2 separate regions of the Homo sapiens genome follow, and region 2 is linked to region 1. Evidence: promoter capture Hi-C in human tissues and cell types (Jung and others, 2019). All regions are on one chromosome and are shown on one strand. Each heading gives the region's core, a stretch centred on a gene start or on the middle of the fragment in contact. The rest is flanking DNA. Distances are from core to core; before and after follow the strand shown.

Region 1 (5,142 bases), core at 1-2,500:
AACGGTCACTGCCACCCCAGAGTGCGTGGCAGGAAAACCCGAACCCTGGGGCCTCAGTGGCTTCACACAGAAGCAAGTAATGGGACAAAGAGTCAAAGCTGTGTGCTCCCTACGCTCCTAAAAACCCAACACTGACGCTGCCCACAGTTCTCTGTTTCATTAAACACAAGTCCCAATGTCACCTTCTTAGACATTTTTCCTATGTAACTGAAGGCAAAACACATTAAATATTTGCTCTCGTCTTCCTATGATGAGAGTTAGCTAGCAGGCTCATAAATAATCCATTGACCAGGTTCACTTTTCTGGACAAAACTGATGGTAAAAATACATACACAAAGTCTTTGTAATGTCTGATTCAGAAATTCTACCCCTCTCAAATTCTTCAGAGTCCCAAATGGAAAAGGAACAATTCAATATGCAAAAGCCCCAGTTCAGAAGAAAATCTGCTCCTTAGCCCAAGACCCAAATCCACTCTTGAGCTCCAGAGAGCTTTTTTTCAAGAACAAGTTTGAATGTACACAATTTTCAAGCAAATGATGGTTATATCCTTCAACCACGTAGCACAGTCGTTGGAGTTGGAGTTTCACATACATTCTGAATGGCCTGTGAGGTGTCTGAGAGCGCCTCAGCTCTGACAGTGAAACCACCCAAGCGCACGGAGACTCGGCCCACTTAGGCGCCACTCAGAGATTTCTCTAGCTGTCTGGGCATTTGTGTCAACCAGAACTCTCCCTTTGCATAAAGCCACCTGCACGCGATGACAGCAAAGTAAAGATCAAACATAAACCATGGGTTGAAACGAAAGCAAGCAACTCTTCCCAAAGCGCAGGACAGCACTTTGCTCAAGACCCTCTTTAAGGGGTCTTTCACGGGTCCTCAAGAGGTTGCAAAGCCCCTGCAACAATAGACAAAGGAGCCCCCTACGCCCGCCCACTTCGAGCACTCCACGTTCCTCGTCTCCCACTCTGGCCGGTCAGCTTCAGCTCTGGCTCTTGCTGAGCGTGGAGGGCGCAGGGGCAGGATCCGGCGCCCACCGCTGGGGCGCATGCACCTCCTCGCCTCCTCGCAGGGCGGTGGGGCGCAGCGGTTCTATCCCCCTCCCCGAGGCGGGGAAGAAGGTCTGGAAAGAAACGTGGGTTCGAGGCGGAGAGGAAAAGCGGACCCACCTGCCAGGCTGCGCGGGGAGGCTGGTCCCGGGCTGGGCAGGCGGGCTGGCCTCGCGCCCTCGAGGCACCCGGCGGCGCTGGCTGTGCGGAGGGGCGCCGGCGCGGCCGTATTTGTACCCGCGGGCCCTCACATGGTCTGATCTCTAGATAGCCGCCGCCAAAGAGCTCTTGAAGAATTTTTGCGTCACTTTGAGGCGAATAAACTTAATGCTTCCCCGCGGCCGCGGCTCCGCGCTCCCGCTGGATGGGGTTGCGCTCGCCAGGGAGGGGCCGCGCTACGGGGCGGGGTGCGCGCCCGACCCCAGAGCCAGGAGGGGAGGGACCCCCGACACACACACACGCTCGCAGGGAGGAGCGGAGCGCGGAGCAGCCGGCAGGGCAGGGCCGAGCGAGGAATCCTGACTTTCCTGCTCTTTAACTTTGCGGGAGGGGGGAGGCTGCACAAAGGAGCAGGTGTGCGCCTCCCCTGCCGCCCCGCGCCCACAGGACGGCACACAGGGGTCTGCTCGTGCCGCTTTCTCTTGACCTCGGACACCTCCCCATCGTCCCCATCCCGAAAGCTGCTCTCTCTTTCTTCCTGGGACCTAGCAGTACTCGATACCCATGCGTTTATCTGACTGACCGGCTGGGATGTGAGCTCAGCTTAGAGGCCCTTGTCTAATTCCTCTCCGTCCCCAGAGTCTCACAATAAAGACTTCCACAATGAAGGAATGAAGAACTGGTTCTCATTTTGTTAACCAGCTACAGTTCAAAGCTGCGTCAAAAAGGAGCACAGTGCTTTGGGAGGCTGAGGCGGGAGGATTGCTTGAGCCCAGGAATTCAAGACCAGCCTGGGCAACACAGCAAGACCCCATCTCTAGAAAAAAAATTTTTTTAATTAGCCGGGCGTGGTTGCTCGCGCTTGTGTTCCCAGCTACTCAGGAGGCTGAGGTGGAGGATCAGCTGAGCCCGGGAGGTCGAGGCTGCAGTGAGCCGTGATCGAACCACTGCACTCCAACCTGGTGACAATTTGAATTATCTGAAAGGGCCCAGCAGGAGCCTATTGTTTTGAACCATGTGCATGTAGTTTTGATAATTTTTTCAAAAAGTTTAAAAATTGATTTAATGTTAATATCCTTTTTGCTAAAATTATTTAAAACTTTAAAAAGGGCACATGCAGTACTTGCTTTGGGTTGTCCCTGAGGCGGAAAGGAGAGGGCTCTACCTCTCCCCAAGAGGAGGCCAGGAACGATAGGAAGTAGAAGACCGAAAGGAAATAGCAGTGACAAGTTTGCAGCTCCAGAGAAGCCACCGCCCCTTGTACTTGGAGGAACTGACCCCTGAAAACTGTGCGGCCGGTTGGGCTGAGCGTCTAGAGGGACTGAGCTGGACAACCACGGGCAAGCGAGGGCAGCTCCCAGCGGGTGGAGTCCGCGCGGGATTCTGGTGCCACCTAGACGCCAGGGCGGGGACCGCAAGGTGGGCGGGAGGCTTGGAGGCCGGGATGCGGGGGAATACTGGTAGGGTGCAAGGAGAATGCTGGAGGGGTGCAGGGGGGATGCCGGGGGTGCATGGGGGGATGCTGGGGGGTGCAGGGGGGATACTGCGAGGGGTGCAGGGGGGATAATGGGGGTTGCAGGGGAGATCCTGGGAGAGGTGCAGGGGGATGCTGGAAGGGCTGCAGGGGGGATGCTGGGGGTGCAGGGGAGATGCTGGGGGGGCTGCAGGGGGGATGCTGGGGGTGCAGGGGGGATGCCGCGAGGGGTGAAGGGGGGGATAATGGGGGATGCAGGAGCGATCCTAGGAGGGGTACAGGGAGTTGCTGGGAGGTTGCAGGGGGGATGCTGGGAGGGCTGCAGTAGGGACATTAGGGGTTAGGTGCTGGCATTCAGAGCGGCAACGCCAGGCGGGAGAATCCCCAACAAGCTTGGGAATTTCACCCCCAGGGGCAGCGCCTGCACGGGAGTGGGGCCTCCTCCTTTCAGATGAACACAGTTGTCTGCTGCCTCCCACGTTCCACTTCTTAAATGAGCATGTTTGTGCTGTATAGGCAAGGGCAACAGAAAACGCAAAGTGTCCTTTCCAGGAGGGCCAAAGGAGGGGGGCAGGGACGCTGGGAAGAGGCGCCAAAGCGGAGGACGGCTGCAGGGGTGACTTCAGCGCTTGGCTACCAAGACCAGGTCTGTCCAGTGTGACTTCTTAGCACTTCTTAATTGTGCAGTCTCGCCACTTCTGATCTTCCTTCTAGACTCTTTCTAGCCGAAGATGCATTCCTGCCCAGCGCGCAGCCCCTCCCTATGGCACTGCCCTGTTCTGTGCAGGTGCTGCCTAGAGAGTGGGCACCCTGTGGACCTGGGTCAAATCCCGGCCCCCACCCTGTACTGTGGTGTGGGCTTGACCGAGCTCCTTAACCTCAAGCTGTCTGGCCTTTGTGTCTCTGTTTGTGAAGTAGGGAGGATGATCTCAGTGGGCACTGCCCAGCTGTGGGTGGGGAAGGGGCCAACTCCTTGCAGGCCCTGTGCGCTGGGCCCTTCCTCCAAGGGGGCCTTCGACCCCTCCTCTCTCTGGCCGGGTGGTCCCATCTCCTCCCCTCTTGCTCCCCAGCTGCGGGCAACCACCATTAGCAAATGACATTAGAATTACACAGACGGCCCCGCCCTGGTTCCCCCTGCCTCCATGGCAGAGTCCGCACACAACTGGCCCAGACCCTCCCCCTCTCTCTAAACAGGTGTTTCTCTTCCTCCTGCCCTGGGTACCATCCCACAGAGAGGCCAGGCCCACCTGCAGGTCCTCACCTCCACAGAGCCAGCCTCTCTTGAGCAGCTCCGCTCTGCCTTCTGATACTCATCGCCACAAGCACCTTGTCCTTCCTCGGCCTCCCACTCCCTCCCTCTGAGCCCGCGCCCTGCTCCCCTGCCTGGCGGTCAGTCGACTGCCCCGCCCCGCCTCCAATTCAGGTGGACAGGCTTCAGCGTCCACTACCGGGGAAGAGGCAGCCCCGCACCCGTGCCTCCCCCCGCCTCTGGGCCGCTCCTTCCCAGCCTGAGCCTGACCGCATGAGGAAGGCACAACCTCTCTGCTCCAGAGACCTGGAGAGGCCGGGAGGCCCTGTCCTGGGCATGGAAGGCAGGAGGGAGCCCTGAGTGCGGCAGGAGGGAAGCAGCGCTTCAGGGGAAGGATCTAATGGCTGTGACCTGCGTGGGCTGCAGGTAAGAGTAGGGGGGAAGGGGGTTGTCGTGGTGGTTGGGACAGACGGGTTCCTTAGAATGTGAATGCAGGCGTCAGCTGGTGGCCGCAGGGAAGAGATGCAAGCCAGAAACCCAGCAGGCACCTGCGAAGCTTGGTGCTGGTGGTGTATAGGGACAGCCAGGGAGATGTCAAGGGCGACAGGTCCTGGGCAGCTGGGAAGAGGCTGCCTGGCAATCACCGCACAGCAATAGTTTTTCTTTGTTCACCTGCTTGAGCCCAGAAATAGTGGGGCTTAGAAGCTGCTCTGGGGCTCAGAATAAATACAAGCTTTCACTTTAAGAGGAAAGGGGCACATAAATATTTACACCTGCCCCAAACACCACCAAGAAAACCCACTTCCTGGAAGTCTCAAAGGCCAGCAGTGAGTCCCCTGTGGAGCCAGCCAGGACCGAACCATGCGAATCCCAGGCTCTCCCTCCGGAAGCCCTTGGTGCCATCTGTCTGTCCTGTCTCTGCCCTGTTTATACAATAACGAAAGAAGAAGGCCCACCCCTCCTTGTGGGCTTTTTCTCAGGCCCAGGAAAATGCTGACAATATTCAGTCCTTAGAGTGTCATCTTGCTCCATTCCCACCAGCACCTCCCCGACACCCCTGGTTTTTCCTGGGACCCCCAGTTTTTCCTGGCATGGTTCTGGTGACTCTACATTCATGTTCAGTGGCACCTCCAAGGCAGGACTTGCTGCCACTGTGAACCCTGGGCTCATCTCTACGGAGGTCTCCATGGGAGCCCCTAGCAGGCCCACCCCAT
Region 2 (5,240 bases), core at 1,373-3,872, 82 kb after region 1:
CTAACAGGAGGATTATGTCTGTTCTTTTTAGAAACAAGTCTGTTGAGATTTCATACATTCTGCTAATTTCTTCTTTTTGCTTCTATGTCAAGAAGGCTTTTTACCACCTGTCTGACAGCAGATCTCTCTTGCACTGTGGCACATTTAGCTACTGCAAAATTAGATGAAAACAGTTTTGTTTTGTTTTTCTAAGACAGAGGAGGAGCACAGAAGAGACATCAAAGATGATTCTGGCCAAGGCTGCCTCCCCTACAAGCTCCCAGTTGTGTGGGAAAGAGAAGCATAAACTCTTATGGGGGAAAAAAGAAGAAAGAATGGAGATGGGGAAAGTCAATTATAAATTATGAGAGCTGTGGTTTAAATGGGAGAGGTACGAGAAAAGTACAGGCTGACTCATAATTAGTACAGATAGTACAACACAAATTACCAATTTCATTGCTCTTTGAACATTCATTGCCACATAGAGCTCACAAATTTTGTGACCATGTCAACTACAATGAAATGAGAAAAATAGGAACATACGCTGAGTTTTTCATAATACTAAATTTATTCAATTTAAAGGAGCATCTTATATTTCAAGATTATAGTCTTCTTTCTTTCTTTAGTCCTAAAACATTTCTTTTATGAAACGACAGTGAAGGTAGATAATAATTGATTTTTTGTTTGTTTGTTTTTGAGACAGAGTCTTGCTCTGGTGCCCAGGCTGGAGTGCAGTGGTGCCATCTCAGCTCTGCAACCTCTGCCTACCAGGTTCAAGCAACTCTGCTGCCTCAGCCTCCCAAGTAGCTGGGATTACAGGTGCATGCCACTACACCTGGCTTTTTGTATTTTTAGTAGAGATGGTTTTCACTATGTTGGCCAGGCTGATCTTGAATTCCTGGCCTGAAGTAATCTGCCTGCCTCAGCCTCCCAAAGTGCTGGGATTATAGGAGCCACCACACCTGGCATAACTGGTATTTTTTATATGCTTCCTGGGCAACTTAAAAAATTGATTACTCTGTTGTTTCTTCCTTTTTTTTTTTTTTTGGCTTTGCACCAATTTGTGAGACCCAAGTATCTCCTACCTAGAAAAAAAACACACTAAACAGTAAATGATTACCAACCTATTTGGAACAAATCTCAATTAATTAACATATACTTCAAGGAGAAGACTTAACAAAATCTTACTTTTCATTCTTAATAGCTCTTTCCATAAAAATGTTCCACAAGTGTATCAAATTAGTCCTAACAACTACTGTTAAGTGATTAATGAAACAGGAGTGACAGGAGTGAATTTAATAATAGCAATAAATACAGATGGGACTACATAAATTGTGGAGGTCCTGATGCAAAACTCTCTCTGTATTCGATGGCATCTCAGCTTTCTCATCTGAAATGAATGAAGAAATTAATAATAATGATGCTCATAGCAATAAGAAAAAAATTCAAAACAAAACCCATACTCTCTGACAACATGCCTTTGTTCTTATTACCTACTACCCACTTCACATATGCTAGAAGCGCTAAACAAAGCTGCAAAGAGAAGGCAGTATGGGGATGAATGTGGTTCCTGGCCTTGTTGTAAAGCAGTATGGACCAGTGACTTCCTCCAGAGCATTTGCATTGTGTGGCAATAAAATGCAGTTGCACAAACATTGGGCAAACTCACTTAAAGAGGGAGCAGGCTTAGGACTAAAGGTGTTCTCTATTCTAGGCAACTTTTCAACCTGTCTTCCTCTAAAGTGGAGGCAGATTTTCCTCCACCTTCTATTCTCCTTTGAACCCCTTCCCCTTCCAGCACCTCCCATCTCTGGAGTTTGTCTAGAGTGATGCATATCACTGCTATTCATCTGCTTATTTAAAAAGCACTGGTCCCGGCCTAGAGTACTTACAGAGCTGTTTCACTGTGAGGGTCTTTATCCTTCATGCAGAGCTAAAAGCAAACATGGCAGTAAATTAGCCTGCTTTTTAAGGCCCATGGAGAAATATTTTGAATGCATTAAGATGGCTCGAGGACAGGTGTGTGTCCTGTGCACACCTCTGCACTGGCTCAGGCGTCATTTTTGGGGCCACACTAGTAGTTTTTATTAAACTCAAAGAAGATGTAACTCTTAGTTAAGATGCTTCCAGTGTCTTAGATACTTGAGTATTTACTTTTTTATAGAAAAAAAAATGCGGCCGAGTGCAGTGGCTCACACCTGTAATCCCAGAACTTTGGGAGGCCAAGGCAGATGGATCATTTGAGGTCAGGATTTCAAGACCAGCCTGGCCAACATGGTGAAACCCTGTCTCTACTAAAAATACAAAAAAACAGCCAGGCATGGTGCCACATGCCTGTAGTCCCAGTTACTCTGGAGGCTGAGGCAGGAGAATGGTGTGAACCTGGGAGGTGGAGCTTGCAGTGAGCTGAGATCACGCCACTGCACTCCAGCCAGGGTGACAGAGCAAGAATCCATCTCAAAAAAAAAAAAGAAAAAAATGCTTTGTGGCTGGGTGTGGTGGCTCATGCCTGTAATCCTAGTGCTTTGGGAGGCTGAGGCAGGCAGATCACTTGAGCTCAGGAGTTCGAGACCAGCCTGGGCAACATGGCAAAACCCTGTCTACAAAAAATACAGAAATTAGCCGGGCACGGTGGTGCATGCCTGTGGTCCCAGCTACTAGGGAGGCTGAGGTGGGAGGATCACTTGAGCCCAGGAGGTTGAGGCTACAGTGAGCTGTGATCAAGGCACTGCACTCCAGCCTGGGAGAGAGAGTAAAACTCTATCTCAAAAAAATAAAAAAAGAAAGAAAGGAAGACAGAAAGAAAGAAAGAAAAGAAACAACAACAACTAAAATATGCTTGGGATTGGAATAGGGGGTGGAGTGAATTTCTTCTTGAGAGACATGGCTGCCCTGTTGCTATGTGTTCCAAGGAGAATGCCCCTTGCTGAATGATGAACTCAGCCTAGGGCTTTCTGCCTTTTTTGCTCTCCTTTGGCACTGAATTAGCTGGCAGAGTCAAATGCATGGCATTAACCTAAGCATGCACGTATTCTGAATCATACCAACCAACGAGGATAACCACTTTATAATTCAAACACCAGTCCACTACAGCCAGGGCATGTGGCTATAGTCCAGAAGTGAGCAGCCAATGCCATCTTTTCCATGCAGATCTCTGAATCTAGAGCGGATGTTCCTCCCTATATTTATTTATTATACCACAGGTATCATAGCAACAATAAAGGGCAATTTAAAAGGAGGAAAATCAGCCCCCAATTGCCTACCCCTGGCAACACAGCTATTTTCAATTCAGGCTTTGCCCATGTGCACTTCTCTTCTTTGTAAATCTGTACTCATAATGTACATATAATTTTTATTCCCTTGAGCAACTGTATTTTAGATCTCATGGTATAAAGACCAGATTTGACTTTGCCAAGAAGGGTTCCTAACTGAAGTCACTTATATTTCTAGCTTTCTGCCTTTATTCAGATGATGGCTTTTTACTTAAATAGCTCAGAATACTTAGATACCTTCATTATTTTCTTTCTTCTAGCAATCAGTCCAAAGCACAATGTCAGAAAGATCACAACACATGCAGCAATAATGGGCTCTATTGGTACACCCACAGTTTTATCTGTAGGAAATGCAAACACAGGGAATAAGAATGAACATTTATATACTTCCAATACGTCCCAGCAATGGTGCCTTGAACTTTATGTGTGTCATCCCCTTAATTAAACCTTCTCAACAATCTCAAAAAGTAGGTATGATTGTCCTCATTTCACAGGTGAGGAACCAGGAGGTTTGAGGGGTTAGAGTGCTTGTTCAAAGTCATAGAATTAGGCCGGGTGCAGTGGCTCATGCCTGGAATCCCAGCACTTTGGAAGGTTGAGGCGGGCAGATCACTTGACGTCAGGAGTTCAAGACCAGCCTGGCCCACATGGTGAAACCCCATCTGTAAAAAAAAAAGAAAAAAAAAAAAATATATATATATATATAGCTGGGCATGGTGGCAAGTGCCTGTAGTCCCAGCTACTTGGGAGACTGAGGCAGGAGAATTGCTTGGTCCCAGGAGACAGAGGTTGCAGTGAGCCAGGGTCGCGCTACTGCACTCCAGTCTGGGTGACAGAGCAAGACTCTCTCTGTCTCCAAAAAAAAAAAAAAAAAAAAAAGTCACAGAACTGGTAAATGGTAGAGGCAGGTTTTGAATCAATTCCTTTGTGGAATAATAATTTATTGTAATATGAGTAACTCCCCTAAAACAAGTAGACCATTTTGTGCTTCCTTCACCCACAGTTTTTGCCACACACAGAGCAGAAGTAGATTGAAGTCAACGATTTTGCCTGGATTTTGAAAAGTCCAAAATATATTGGGAAGTATCCTGGGGTGGGTGAGGGAAGAGAGGGAGGAAGGCTTTGAGAGCAAGAAGAGAAAGGGTGGAGAGCTTTCTGGACTAAGAAGGAGAGAGAGGTCTGTGGGCCTCAAAAGCAGTGGGGAGCCTTGTACCTGTACTGCAATGGTGCCCCAAGCAGGTGACAAGACATTATAGAAGGTAGGTGGCTGCATAGTGTCTCTAGGGAAGTAGGACTCTAAGCATGAGCCTTCCCAACCTTGGCAAAGTTTTCTGCATCTCTCTAAATGCCATGCAAAGAGAGAGAGCCTACTTCTAACTTGGACTAGGAAGAGATCAGCAGCAACCATGACAGCTTGGAAGTGAAAGCCTACCCCTTTATTTTCTAAACACCAGGTCAACTGAGAGCTATTTTTTTTTTTTTGAGACGGAGTTTTGCTCCTGTTGCCCAGGCTGGAGTACGGTGGTGCAATCTCGGCTCACTGCAATCTCTGCCTCCCAGGTTCAAGTAATTCTCCTGCCTCAGCCTCCCGAGTAGCTGCAATTACAGGCACGTGCTACCATACCGAGATAATTTTTGTATTTTTAGTAGAGACGGGGTTTCACTGTGTTAGCCAGGATGGTCTCAATCTCCTGACCTTGTGATCCGCCTTCCTTGGCCTCCCTAAGTGCTTGGATTACAGGTATGAGCCACCGCACCGGGCCAAGAGCTACTTTATTTATCAGTCACTATAGGCATAGTGCCTGTGTTTGCAAGCTTTCTAAGAGCCTTTGAAAATATTTGAGACCCAGAAAAAAATGATTGGCCCCAAGATATGAAAAGAAAGTAGCAAAATTAATCAAAATTAATCAATGTTTAAGCATCTGTAAAATGCAACCTGGCATCAACTCTAACCGAACTGTTAAATAATAATGTTTAAACCTCAAGAAC

The links. Contacts are between HindIII fragments. The study calls those that stand out against the background at their distance.
Region 2: a fragment that was not itself captured here is called in contact with the fragment with the promoter of SLC6A4 in region 1 in 2 of the 25 tissues and cell types used here (IMR-90 fibroblasts and lymphoblastoid cells).

The regions. Positions count from the first base shown.
Region 1 is chr17:30,234,447-30,239,588 of GRCh38, forward strand. It overlaps SLC6A4 (solute carrier family 6 member 4), which reads right to left and starts at 1,251. Exons shown (of 15, transcript NM_001045.6): 1 at 1,167-1,251. LOC105371720 (a long non-coding RNA gene) reads left to right here and starts at 3,052. Exons shown (of 3, transcript XR_007065698.1): 1 at 3,052-3,325; 2 at 3,874-4,354. RefSeq lists promoters at 1,035-3,061, 1,035-2,819, 1,035-1,329, 1,225-3,049, 1,230-3,075 and 1 more, cis regulatory regions at 1,330-2,819, 1,691-2,515, 2,392-2,431, 2,659-2,829, 2,698-2,717 and 2 more, a silencer at 1,485-1,667 and an enhancer at 3,883-4,783. The HindIII fragment of the contact is 6,948 bases long and covers 1-3,777 here.
Region 2 is chr17:30,315,322-30,320,561 of GRCh38, forward strand. It overlaps TMIGD1 (transmembrane and immunoglobulin domain containing 1), which reads right to left. Exons shown (of 7, transcript NM_206832.3): 5 at 3,489-3,592; 6 at 1,872-1,912; 7 at 1,012-1,369. The coding sequence ends at 1,366. Among named protein-coding and RNA genes, the nearest start is that of TMIGD1, 16 kb to the right of the region's middle. The HindIII fragment of the contact is 8,272 bases long and covers 1-5,240 here.